2 separate regions of the Homo sapiens genome follow, and region 1 is linked to region 2. The links are contacts of gene promoters, found by promoter capture Hi-C in blood cells and fetal thymus (Javierre and others, 2016). All regions are on one chromosome and are shown on one strand. The core of a region is centred on a gene start or on the middle of the fragment in contact, and the rest is flanking DNA. Distances in the headings are between cores, read along the strand shown. Region 1 holds the start of PCMTD1 (protein-L-isoaspartate (D-aspartate) O-methyltransferase domain containing 1). Region 2 holds the start of MAK16 (MAK16 homolog).

The links. The method cuts DNA at HindIII sites, captures the fragments that hold promoters and counts their contacts. A CHiCAGO score of 5 or more calls a contact.
Region 1: the fragment with the promoter of PCMTD1 here is called in contact with the fragment with the promoter of MAK16 in region 2 in 1 of 17 cell types (non-activated CD4 T cells); the score reaches 6.0 in non-activated CD4 T cells.

Annotation. Positions count from the first base shown.
Region 1 is chr8:51,895,368-51,902,560 of GRCh38, reverse strand. It overlaps PCMTD1 (protein-L-isoaspartate (D-aspartate) O-methyltransferase domain containing 1), which reads left to right and starts at 3,525. Exons shown (of 6, transcript NM_052937.4): 1 at 3,525-3,631. PCMTD1-DT (PCMTD1 divergent transcript) reads right to left here and starts at 3,246. Exons shown (of 4, transcript NR_189279.1): 1 at 2,715-3,246. RefSeq lists enhancers at 2,409-2,468, 2,769-2,828, 2,999-3,288 and a silencer at 3,329-4,018. The HindIII fragment of the contact is 4,691 bases long and covers 2,015-6,705 here.
Region 2 is chr8:33,483,812-33,490,433 of GRCh38, reverse strand. It overlaps MAK16 (MAK16 homolog), which reads right to left and starts at 5,252. Exons shown (of 10, transcript NM_032509.4): 1 at 5,213-5,252; 2 at 2,007-2,056; 3 at 1,805-1,914; 4 at 1,636-1,700; 5 at 1,295-1,446; 6 at 95-149. The coding sequence starts at 5,227. RefSeq lists silencers at 5,245-5,432, 5,643-5,832 and enhancers at 5,323-5,472, 5,460-6,096. The HindIII fragment of the contact is 3,746 bases long and covers 3,357-6,622 here.

The DNA of each region.
Region 1 (7,193 bases), core at 2,276-4,775, about 18 Mb before region 2:
GTTGCTCAGGCTGATCTTGAAATCTTGCAACTTCTGAGCTCAAATGATTCTCCCACCTCTGCTTCCTATAGGGCTGGGACTATAGTCGTGAGCCACTGTGCCTGGCCAATGACAATTCTCTTTAAGAGAGAAAATACTTCTGTTTTTGCTTTTTTTTTTTTTGCAGGGGGAGGGGGATGGTGAGGTAGGGGAGGTGATGAATTTAACTGTACTGAAAATGGTACAAGGAAATCAAACTGCAGAAAAAAACAGTTCCACATTTAGTTACATTTTAGTTTTGGGTTTTCCCCAGACATTGCAGGCCAAATTAGAGTTAAGATGAGGAAATCCTTTCAGTCCTCACAGACCAGACTTGGCTTTATAAAACATAATCAAGTCCCACTATACAACCTAGGTGTTAGGAAGCAACTAGAGTTTTCAAGGTAGATCTGGGCAACACGCAGACACCTCCATTTCTGAGGCTGAAGGAAACATGCACCAGTGCTAACTGCCACGCATATGAAAAATGTGAACTCCTAGCACGGTGACAGTAGCTGTATGCTGAATACCATTTAATTTAATAAGCATTTGTTTGTTGAATACCTTATGCATTCAAATAACAGAGCACTTCTGATACAACAATGCTTCAGCCTACACAGTATTCTGAAAGGAGTCCCAAATAGCTCAATTTTACTTTGGGTATTTTCTGCTTAATAATAAAAGTGAAGCAACCTCGTATGAAGAATTAAGTTATTACAGTAAGTGTTATTGCTGTTGCCAGGACCAAACTTACTGTAACAATGTATCAAGAACTCTAGGAATAAACTGTGTGTGGGTTATCTAAATTTATCAAAGTCTAAATAAATCTCTAAATGATTCTAGATGATAATTTAAAATTTAAATTACTCATTCAACAAATGCAGAGTATCAGTGTTGTAGCAGCCACTGTATCAGGCCCTGCAGAGAAATAGTGAGCATACTGGGTATGTGCCCAACTTTCATGATTACAAATTAGTAGGAAGTCACACACAAGAAGTGAATTATAGCCAGACGTGGTGGCTCATGCCTGTAATCCCAACACTTTGGGAGGCCGAGGCGGGTGGATCACTTGAGATCGGAGTTTGAGGCCAGCCTAGCCAACAGGGGAAACCCCATCTCTACTAAAAATACAAAAATTAGCAGGGGGTGGTGGTGCGCTCCTGTGATCCTAGCTACTTGGGAGGCTGAGGCAGAACTGCTTGAAGCCGGGAGGTGGAGGTTGCAGTGAGCAGAGGTTGCCACTGCACTCCAGCCTGGGCAAAAGAGCAAAAGACTCTGTCGCCCCCACCCACAAATGAATTATATGTGTAAGGTATGGAGGCATAATCAGAAATTACGTGAAGGTAGAGATGGGGTGTGCCTACCACAGGAAAATTACAGGTGATAGAGTGCTTTACTTGCTGTTCAACTACTCACCCACAAGACTAGCATTTGGTGTTGTTTATTAAGAAGGTATTTACTAGCAGTCTTATTTAAAAAATGACCTGTGTTTAACTTTCCAGCCGCAGAAGAGAAAAAAGGTCTAGAACCCTGAAAAATTCCCATAGCAGAAGGAAGAAAGTAAAGGAAAATATGCTTTTAAAAAATGGAGAGAAAACAGGGGAAACGGCTGTAAGAGTTGTTTAATGATTTTAGCTATTTTCCTTAGATTACCATTTGTACTTTTTTTGTTTGTTTATGGTAAGATAGTTTTCATGTGCCAAAATTTCTGCTTGGACTAACAGAAAATTCATCCTGTAAGATTGTTATATGATCCCACAACGGTTAGGAGTGCCCTGGGTCCAGGCAGAAATCCAAAGATGGAGCTAATAATGTGACCCGCAGCTCTACTCCAGAATGCAGATGAATAGAGATTTTGAACAGTTCGGAGCTCAATGTCCACTGAATATGCACTCATACTTTAAACCTAAATAAAGTGAAGCCTTTGAGTTAAATGGCAGAGCGCCTCAGCAGCAATTTTGCTCGTTTTCAAGTTCTTATTTCGTGATTTGAAGCTTTTGACCTTGCTAGCATGTTCTTTCTGAACGCTTTTGCAGATGGTTGGTTATGGTGGGGAGTAGTAACCCTAGCATAAAGACGTTCTAATTCTAACTTACCTTAGGTAACCTATAAGGGTAGCTTACGCTCACTCTCATACTTGAAAATCAAAACCGAACAGAATTCACACGATGGAAGCAAATCATGCTACAACCTACTATTAGAGACTGAAGGGAAACGCACAAAGATTAATGAACAACAAAGAACACTTCAAAAAGTACAGTATTTGGAAAAGACATGCCTTTATGTACACTAAAACTAATTTAAAAAATTAAATGCAGTTTGCTAGGAGTCTTACAAGTATTAACAGCATGTTCACTGCTTAGGATCCTTAGTAGCAATATTTTCCCGGCTCGCCTGCCCCTATGCCTCATTTCCTCTTCTTTTTTTTTTTGAGATGGAGTTTCGCTCTTGCCGCCCAGGCCAGGTGCCATCTCAGCACTGCAACCTCCGACTCCCGGGTTCAAGCGATTCTCCTACCTCAGCCTCCCGAGTTGCTGGGACTACAGGCGCACGGCACCACACCCGGCTAATTTTTGTATTTTTAGTAGAGACGGGGTTTCACCATGTAGGCCAGGCTGGTCTCTAAGTCCTGACCTCAGGTGATCCGCCTGTCTCGGCCTCCCAAAGTGCTGGGATGACAGGCGTGAGCCACTCACCCGGCCCTCTTCTCGACTTTCTATCCCTCCTCCTCAACACCCTTTCCTTCTGGAAATGGGCTTTGGGGTGGTTAACCAAGCCCAGGGAAACTTGCGTGGCCCAGCATCTTCCGTCCGCTGCAGGAGGAGCACACGCCCCCGGCCCGGGTCAGCAAGACGCGAGAAAGCGGCCACGCCGGGCGTCCGGGAGCTGAGGCTGGAGGGCGCCTGGCAGGCAGGGCGGGGCCCAGGCGGCGGGAGTGCTTATGACCGGCGCTGGGGGGAACTTCTGGACGTCAAGGGGCCACTATAAAGCGGCACAGTCTTGAGCCTTCGCTCTTCACCTAAGTCAGTGAGCGCCCTTCGCAAAGCCTCTGTGGAGGTAACCATTGGGGGTTCGCCTCCAAATCCAGGAATGCACCTCAAAAATGCTCCTACACCGTAAGACCGTGTCCTTCAATGCAAAGGGGACTGTGCGGCGAGGCACCGACAAGCCGTAGCCCTGAGACCACTGAAAGCCTGCACCCCAGCGCCGGTGCGAGAACGTGGAGATGGCGGTGGGGAGGAGAGGTGGAGGCCATGCTCTCGCGTGATCTCCCCTACCGCCATCGTCTTCTGGCCTGTCAAGGCCTCGCGTTGTTTGGGCTTGGGGGCGGAGCGAGCCCTGAGGGGGGCGGGGCCAGATGGGGGCGTCTCCCGGCCTTGTTGACTTTGGCGTCCGCGGGGAGCTGCCCCTGTGCCCGTGGTTCTCTGCGCATGCCCGGACCCCGGCGGCTCCGGAGTCCGGGAGGCTCTGGCTGCTCCAGTCGCGGGTCCGGGCCCCGCCTCTCCACTCGGCGGTGGCGTCCGTGTTGTTATTGTGGTGGTAGCGGCGTCTGGCTGCTGCGGACCCCGCCGAGTCCTAGCGCCTGGCCTGCGCGCCGCTGCCCGCGCCACAGGTAACGCCGCCGCCAGTGGGGGCTCGGGGTCGTGGGGTGTGCGAGTCCCGCGTGCTAGGGCCGGGCGGGCGACTGGGATGCGCTTGGAGGCCAGAGGGCCAGGGGGACGGCAGCCGAAGAGTCGGGGGCAGGGGGACTTAAGGGCGGGCAGGTCGGGGGCCAGGAAACTGAGGCGCTGCGGGGCAGGTTGGGGGAAGGACGGGCCGGGGGCGGAGGACTTGGGAGGTCGGGGAGTCGAAAGGGGCCCAGCGAAGCCTGGAGGTCGGGAGCCGGGGTCCCTGGGGCCGGGGAGGTCGGGGGCCCGAGGGAGGCCGGGGCGCCGCGTCCTCGGCCCGTCCTCGGCTCGTCCTCGGCTCTGACCTGGGCTTGGGGACCAGAGTCCCGAGGCTGGCGTCTTGAGATGCCCGCGGGCCCCTTAGGGCCGTTTTGGATCCGCCCAGTGACTTCTGTTTTGGTTTTGGAGGCAGAGAATCCAGTCTACGTAGACTCGGGGAAGTCTCGGGGGCTGGGAGGGGACTGAGAGGTTATAGCAGGCGCCAAGGCCTCTTTTTGTGTTTTTGAGCGTCTACTACCGTTCCGGGGAAGTGCAGTGCCCGCGTTTTGCTTGGGGAATTTCAGACACCGGCATGGGGAGGACCCACGGGCAGAACCCGAGGGAGTAATTTTGCAAATCCAAGATTTTTTGGAACTTCTATAATTTTGTTTTCGTGTGTCCTCTTTTTAGAATCGAGAAACCAGAGATATATTTTTAACATTACAAATCAGAAGAATTTGCTACGGAGGAAAAAAGTATGCTTTTAGCAGTGTTTTTCCCCTATTTATTTTTTTAATTACAAAAGTACTGCTTGCTCCTTGAGAAAAACATGAAGCAGCCAAACAATGAGGAAACCTGCCCTCTCTCGCGCCCTTCCCCCCATATTTCTCCTTCTTACTACCCAGGGTAGCCAGTCTCCAAGTGTGGTGGGTAGTTATTCAGGATTTTTTTTTTCTGTGCATTTAATGAGTGTGCTTTAGAAACAAGATTGGGATCATATATAGTACAGTATATCGTTTTATTAGCCAACAATGCATCATGGATATTCCTCCATTTTATTACACACCTCATTATTTTAAAAAACATTATTACTATGTATTAGAGAATCCAATCTACGTAGGCTTGGGGAAGCCTTTTCTTCATTGTTAAACATGGTCGCCAAGTTTTCAATAATCAGTAGCTTTGAAAAGGGCTACAAGCCAATATTTTGAAACAATGTGGCAAAACTTTCAGAATGTCTGCGGCCAGACGACATTACTTTCGTATTAAGCAGATTAATATGTTTACGTATTGCTTAATGGTAGTTTACATGAGGCTAGATGACTCCATAAAACATAAAGTTGCTGAATTAGTTTACTTTTTGGTTTTTTTTATTTCATTTTTTTCTAAGTAAATTTTAATTCCATATGGTCAGTTGAACACTTGTAATTTCTTTAACATGAAGTAGCTAATATGTGAAGGAAAGGTAAGGTAGGAAAGATAGAAAGCTAGTGGCCCTAGCCTGAGACAAGAAAAAAAAAGCAACAGGGATTAAATATTTTGGTAAGTAAGCTATAGGGAGTAAACTGGAAGTGGAGGGGTGATACTACACTGCCTACTATTAAGTAAGACAGAAAGCTAGGAAATTCCCATTGCATACTGTATTTCTGTGTGCAGAAGAGCTGGAGGCTTTGTTGATTTAATCACTAGCTTGTATTTATTAAAAATGTACTGTGTTCATCTTGGTGCTAGCTTCCAGGGAAAGAACAACTGAGGAAGATAATCACGAACAACGTCTGGTTCTAAACATGCATAGCCTGAAATTTTAAGCCAAATTGTGTAGTATTTTATGATTTGGAAACTGTGCTCGAAAGGAATAAAAAAATCCATGACATTTTAGTTATTTTTGGTAATAATATGCTCATATATTTCTCATAACAACATAAATGACATTCTTCTCATTCTATAGAGTAATAAATAGAGGCTTTGAGTAAAAGAACTGCTCAAGATCCCATTGCTTTTTTTTTTTTTTTGTAATAGTGCGTGTTTATATTCAGGAGTGCTTAATCCAAGAACCTGTGTTTTCTGCTCTTGTTTTACCTCCTATGAACGAAAAATTGTTGCCCTTACGGTTTTTTCTGCTTTCTTTGAAATGTTCCTTACAGAATAACTACATGAATGTAATCACATGCATTTAAAATAGTCTAGAGAATATAGTGTGAAACTATAATGGTATTTTTTTAGATGAGGTTTCTGGTGGCATATTACTAAAATTTTAAACTCCTTGATCTTATGCTGTTAACCAAGAAGATGGGGATTTGTGTTACTTTAGACACTGCTGGGTGCCATGGTAAATTGGGATGTTATTGTAAATTGTAGCTCTCACAGCTGCGTATTGCTTACAAACTCGGAAGGATAGTCTCATATCAGTAAACATTTTTATGAACGTAGTTGAACTTTTTTGTAAATTAGTGTGCTGGAAAGAATACCAAGAGGGCCCTAAAAAAGTCTAAAAGGATTAAAATTTACTTATGTAATTATTGGTATTTTAAAATATTTGGTAGTCACTTAAAATGCATAATGACAGACAATAGGGTGTCATAATATGGTTTATTAATCTTTTTTCATTTTCCACTAGATGTGGCAACTACATAGTTGGAAGAAATGTGGCGGCCGGGGGCAGTGGCTCACGCCTGTAATCCTAGCACTTTGGGAGGCTGAGGCAGGTGGATCGCCTGAGGTCAGGAGTTCGAGTCCAGCCTGGCCAACATGGCAAAACCCCGTCTCTACTAAAAATACAAAAATTAGCCGAGCTTGGTGGTGGGCATCTGTAATCCCAGCTACTCGGGAGGCTGAGGCAGGAGAGTCGCTTGAACCTGCGAGTCAGAGGTTGCAGTGAGCCAAGATCGCTCCACTTCACTCCAGCCTGGTCAAAAGAGTGAGACTCTGTCTCAAAAAAAAAAAAAAAAAAAAAAAAAGAAATGGGACAAATACTAACATTAATAAAGTATGGTCAGTTGTAATCTGTATTTGAGAAGAAACCAAAAATACAGGAAAAGCTTTGACATTTTACTGGCAATTGTTAAGGATGATAATTGGATTCATACCTAAATGGCGTATCTGCCATTGATTATCTCTCGGTCAACGTAACATTGGATGTTGGATGTGAGTGGGTTTTATAATTAGGTGACACAGAAATATTTCAGCCCCCTAAAGACGTTTTTAGAATATGGTAAGATTTTTTCAGCTGTTGAAGTGGGGAAGGATTGTGAATCAAACACTATGTGTATGTGTATTCTCAAAAATTAATGAGAGGTATTGCTGATGGGAAGACATAGCATATTTTCCAGTTTAACCTGAAAATCCTTTTTGGAACATTATGCACGGGTAGCCAGAAATAACTCAACTTTATGTCTTGATACAAGACATGCATCAGGTATGATTTCTAGAGCTTAAAATATTCTTGGAGTTTAAAAACTAATTTGCATAAAACACTCTTCTGTGTTTTCTACTGAGCACTCTTCAGTAACTTGCAGGCTCTTAAAAACC
Region 2 (6,622 bases), core at 4,003-6,502:
GGCCTCAACAGTTTACATAATGATGGTGACTGAATCTATAAGAGACCCCCAGAAAGAAAATGTAGAAGGTATGAATATCTCAACAATAAGTTACCTCTCTTCTTTTCTCCCTACGCTCCACCTTCTTACTCAAAGGAACAAGTTTCCTCCTAAGGGAAAGAAAATATATCAGAAAATCCACTGTCATGTGCTGTGTTCCTTTTTAAGGATGAGAAGAAAAAAGGATTGGAATTGGTGACTAAAATGGAAGTCTACTCATGTGCAGGGCAGGATGGCTGAGCTTCAGGCATTCACGGAGGCTAGCGATTCAAACAAGCCTTGGAGCCCAAGGTTGGTGCTGTAGGGCTCAGCTCAATACAGCAAGATACACTAAACGCTTCTAGAAATTTAATACTATAAAAAGTCATATATTTTTACATGTATTTTAATCCGGCCATTTTTGTTCAGGCATTCTGGGATTCTCAGGGCATTCACCATGCTAAAATTAAGACTTCAGTGAACTAAGAAAAAAGAATTTTCTGTCGAAGTCTGACATCATCTTTAGCATTCTATGTAGATCACAGTCAAAAAGCATTAGGGCCTAACAGTCCTAGAGAAGGTATTCTGTTAATTCTGGGGATTTCATATCACTTTTAAAAATTAGTTTTCAGTGAATCCAGAGTAAAGTTCTTACATTCCTGTATAGTCACATGTCTTAGATCATTTTCAAATCTCTAAAGTTAAGATTCCCTCGGGGGTCATAGAGGAAATTTTCTGAAGGCTGGGCATGGTGGCTCATGCCTGTAATCCCAGCACTTTGGGAGGCTAAGGCGGATCGCTTGAGGTCAGGAATTCTAGACCAGCCTGGCCAACATGGTGAAACCCCATCTCTACTAAAAATACAAAAAAAATTAACCAGGCATGGTGGTCCATGCCTGTAATCCTAGCTGCTCAGGAGGCTGAGGTGGGAGGATTGCTTCAACCGGGGAGATGGAGGTTGCAGTGAGCTGAGGTCGCGCCACTGCAAATTCCAGCCTGGGCGACAGAGTGAGACTCCGTCTTAACAAAAAAGAAAATAAAATTTTCTGAAAGATTTTCAGACAAGGAGGGTGATAATCAAGTTGTATTCTACTGTTTTAAAAGTCCTGCCATATCAAAGGGCACACCTTTAGTCAAAGCTAAAGTTTCTCTTTAGTACATCATAACAGACTCCACAAAGTTGAATAGAAAGCCCCGAAGTTTCACAATTTCTCAACTTCAAAACAAGCTCCATAAAAAGAGAGATTTAAAAATAATGAATGATCCAAATACTTACTGTCGCTTTAGTGTAAGTTTTCTAATTCGAATTAGGTATTGGGTGATCTTGGTGAATCTCTGCTTACATTTGTGTCGAATGAAACGGGGCCAGTAAATCAGATTTTCATCTATTTGCTCCAGTGCTTTCTCATAGTTTTTACTAAGCCGGACCTACCAAACAGAAACAGGAAGTTTGAAGGGCAAGTGTAAATGATTCATTAGGTTTTCACTGTCAGTGACACCCATGGCCTAATGAGGATGGCCTCAAAAGTTAATGGTCATGGAATTGGGCATCATGGTCAAGCATGTGGCTTTGATGCTCTTGATCAGCGGTCACTGTAGTTTTGTTGTAAGGCTTACCCGTTCCCAGAGACGCCGAGGAAAAGCCGCTCGTTCTATAACCTTCATATACAAGTAGCACTGTCCTGAAGATAAAGTAAAATAGCTTTAGTGTTATTTACAGAAACTAAAGAACATCCCTGTAAAAGCTGTGGAGCAGTTCTTCTAGAAGTTAAAACTGGGGAGTTACCTTTCTCTTCTTTAATAGTGGCATACTGACTATTTGCCAGGGGACAGGATGACCGATTACACAGTCCAGTCAGGCTATATTCATTTCGGCAGAAGCTCTGAGTCTTGGTTCTAGAATGGGAGAAAAGAAACAAAGATTATAAAATGGGTTGCCAAAGAGGCAACTGAAGGAATCTTTGACCAAGTTGTAAATTGAGACTCACCTTATTTTGAAGGAACAAAATTGCTTGTTTCCTAGTGTATCCCAGATAACCTGCAAGACAAAGTAAAAGCCCATTTCAAATCCTCTGCCCCAAGAGATACTATATTAATTCAAGAAGGCAATGCCCAAGGACAGGAATGAGAGGAAGAAATGTTTTGTAAAATAGCCTGACTTGTTTACTTTTTAAAATACAAACAGCAAGGCCGGGCACGGTGGCTCACGCCTGTAATCCCAGCACTTTGGGAGGCTGAGTTGGGCGGATCACCTGAGGTGAGGAGTTTGAGACCAGCCTGATTAACATGGAGAAACCCTGTTTATATTAAAAATACAAAATTAGCTGGGCATGGTGGCGCATGCCTGTAATCCTAGCTACTCGGGAGGCTGGGGCAGGAGAATCGCTTGAACCCAGGAGAGGGAGGTTGCGGTGAGCCGAGATTGTGCCATTGCGCTCCAGCCTGGACAACAAGAGTGAAACTCCGTCTCAAAACAAAACAAAACAAAACAAAAAAGCCCAGCAGATTCTTATAGAAAAGCTAAATACAGATGAGCAATAATCATAACTCCATTACCCAGAGATAAAATTTCATTACTATTCTGTAAATATTTTTCCAGACTTTTTTTGACATACTCTGTGAAATCACATTTTATATACTTCGTAACTTTCCCTTTTTACTTATGTTCATTATCCATTATTAAAGGCTCTCATGGGCCGGGTGTAGTGGCTCACACCTGTAATCCCAGCACTTTGAGTGCCAAGGCAGGCGGATCACTTGAGGTTGGGAGTTTGAGGCCAGCCTGGCCAACATGGTGAAACCCCATCTCTACTAATAGAAAAATTAGCCAGGTGTGGTGGCAGGTGCCTGTAATCCCAGCTACTTGAGAGGCTGAGGCAGGAGAATCGCTTGAACCCAGGAGGCAGAAGTTGCGGTAAGCCGAGATCACGCCACTGCACTCCAGCCTGGGCGACAGAGTGAGAATCCATCTCCAAAAAAAAAAAAAAGGCTTCATGGTATTAGATTTTTAGATATACATACCATAATTTTATCTCATTGAGGGCAAAGAAAACTATCTACTGCTATCCTCCTGTACTTAATGTGCTCTTTATTCATTCAGCATTATATACTTAATTTATGTAAGGCACTGACATCTCCAAGTCCTGACACACAGTAGCCACTTAAGTATTTGCTGAATGAAAGAAAGTATACTCTTTAAAGAGTTTCGTCTATCTAGTTAGGGGAAAGATATGTAAACAAAGTATCACAAAATAGCAGGTCTAAAGGCCACATAGCATGCGTAAGAGTATGACAGCCTTTGAGTGCGCTGCCTTGAGGAACTGGGGTAAAAAAAAGCTTTACCACTGTTAAAGGAAAAATATGAAGAGGGCAAAAGAATAAAACACACTTTAAGAATTTTATAGGTGTGTCTGGTGGGGGATGGTAGGAAACAGGTAAGAAGAATAAGGGAGCTCTTTTAGGCTTGTGGCTTTAAGTATCATCTCTAAATGGATGACTCCTAAATTGTTATTTTCTGGTCAGACTTCTTTCCTGAGCACCAGATTTTTATATGACATCTCTTCAATATCTAAAAGGCAACATAAATATTAACATATCCACAAGGAGTTCTCAATTCCACATCCCTCGTAAGAACAGTCTTCCCTAGAGTTCCCCCACTTCAATAAATAAAATCACCATTTAACTATGTATTTATATCCCAAATCCTTTGATTTCTTCCTTTTCTTCTTCACTTAATCCATCACCAAAGTCTTGTCAATTATACTGACGTAAAAGGTCTCAAATTCATCAATTTCTTTTCATCTCCACCATTAAATTACTACCTTAGGCGAAGCCACTTTCGTTTTTAAAAAAATTTATTTACTTTAGAGATAGGGTCTCTCTGTCACCCAGGCTGGAGTGCAGTGGTGCCATCATAGCTCACTGCAGCCTCGGACTTTTCGGCTCAAGTAGTCCTTCTGCCTCAGCCTTCGAAGTAACTGGGACCTCAGGCGAACACCACCGCGCCCAGCTAATTTTTTATTTTTTGTAGAGATGGAGTCTCACTTTATTGCCTAGGCTGGAATCGAACTCCTGGCCTCAAGCGATCCTCCAGCCCCAGCCTCCCAAAGCGTTGGGATTACAGGCATGAGCCACTGTGTCTGGCTTGAAGCAACCTTTGTCATACCCTAGTCTCCTTGCTTTCATTTTTTCCCTCCAAAAGTCCTTCACACAGCAACTAGACAACTTTTCACAAACATAGATCATTAAAAGGCCTAAAAAACACTTCCTACAAGATTCTGCATGACCTCGCCCTGGCAAGCATATCTAATTTCATTACCTGTCTTACATTGTCACTTTGATGACCCTTATATTCATTCTCTCATATCTTCAACTCTTTGTACTTTACTGTTCCTACTGCCTGGATTGCTTTTTCCTCAGCTCCTCAGTGACTGGCTTATTCTTATCTTTTAGATCTCAACTCAAACATCTTCTGTTCAGAGAAACCTTCCCTGAGTAACCCTATCTGAAGTGTCCTTCATCATCTCTGGTCTTTCTTTCATAGTATGATTATATAGTGTAATTGTTAACTTATTTGTTCACTTGTTTACTGTGTCTCCCCCATCAGTGTTCCAGGAGAGGTGGGACATTTTTTCTGGTTAACCAAATCCTCAATAATTACCACAATGCCTGGCACACTGTAAGCACACTGTTATTTCTCCAACAAAAAACTCAATGAATGAATCTAGGATACTTCCGAAATTATGACTTAGGCAGAAGTAGAGCAAATGTAAAGAAAAGCCTACACAGGAAACGCAGATGGAAGAGTAACGCGCACATGGATGAGAAGGACGCTTAAACTTGGAGTCAGCTTCGCCAAATCCCGGGCCGCCCCCCACCCCAAGTCCGGAGCTGACAGCTGACAGCTGACAGCATGACGCGACGTCCTGCATTGGTAGGCACGAAGGACGGGACACATCGACCCCATGGGCTGAGGTGACGGAGTCCTGTGCTCACAACCCGGCCGGGGCAGCGGGCAGTAAACCCCTGCTAGACACGCGTGAGAACCTATGTTGGAAAATCGGGGTTCCGGAAGCCTCACATCCAGAGCGGCACGAGGCAACAGACCCGCTGCGTACGCGTTTTCTAAGTGTCCGAAAATGGGCAAAATTCCCTGCGCAAACCCCGGGTGTAAGAACAACCGGAGGAGACTCACATCATCCGACTGCATGGTGTCCGCGGCTCAGCGTGCAACTTCCGGTCGGATCGCGGGCGCAGACATGCTCCTTCCGGGAAACCAGTTCCGGAACGCGCAGCCTCACCTATCTCGAGAAACGCTGAGACTCTCGGTGTTGCGAAGCGTCCCCTGGCAGTCTCGTCGCCGCGCGCGCGCCCCCGCGTCTTCACCACGCTGGCGTCTGCGCGCGCCCGTCCGCAATGCTGGGCTTGTTCATGGGCGCAGCCTGGAGCTGGGAACCCTGTTGGGACCCAGTGCGATCCGCGGGAGGCAGGACGCGCGCAGTCTGCCGAATCCTGGAGCGCGGGGACCGCGGGGGTCGGGCGTGCTTCCCTAGCGCCCTGTTTGTGACCGTTCATGAGGATGGGACCCCTCCCTGTCGGGCCTCCCCTCTGCTGGGAGGAGGCTGGGGAAAGCTGCAGGCGGCGCGGCGGGGCTGGGTCCCCGCTCCTCCGAGTCCCCCGGCCCCAGCTCGCAGCCAGGCCCCGGCCCTGCCCCTCAGACCCTGACTTAGCCACTCCCCACGCCCACGTTGGGTGCGGCACCGGGTCCTGACTTTAGAAACTCAGAACTTGAATTCCTCCTGCTTTGAGAAACCACTGACCAAATGGAAAGAGCATTCCAATAATAATAAACACCTGTGTCTTCCTCATTGCCTATTTGAGACAACAAACAAAGTTGATAAGGGAGGGAAAATACCAAGAAGAAAAGTAGAGGTCTAATAACCCACAAAAACAAATCTGGAAGCCTAACAGCTCTTTTCCGCCAGGGGAAAAAGAAAATCTTTACTAGTTTGTATCGTATTATAGAAGAAAGACTGTCGGCCGGGCCGGGCGCGGTGGCTCTCGCCTGTACCTCAGCACTTTGGGCGGCCTAGGCGGGCGAGTTCCAGACCAGCCTGGCCAACATAGTGAAATCCCGTCTCTACTAAAAATACAAAAATTAGTCGGGCGTGGTAGCAGGTGCCTGTAATCCCAGCTACTTGGGAGGCTGAGGCAGGAGAATCGCTTGAACCCGGGAGGCGGAGGTTGCAGTGAGCCGAGATCATGCTGTGGCCCTCCAGCCTGGGTGACAACCAAAACTACCTCTCAAAAAAAAAAAAAGAAAAAGAAAAAAGAAAAGGAAAGAAAGACTGTCAAGAGGCATTTGAACCAGAGCAACCCCATCTTGAATAGTGGCTGGGTAAAATAAGGCTGAGATCTGCTAGGCTGCATTCCCGAGGGTCAGGCCATCTAAATCACAGGATGAGGTCAGCACAAAATACAGGTCATAAGGATGTTGCTGATAAAACAGATTGCAGTAAAGAAGCCAGTCAAGACCCACAAAACCAAGATGGCAATGAGTTTGACCTCTGGTCGTCCTCACTGCTACACTCCCACTGGCGCCACA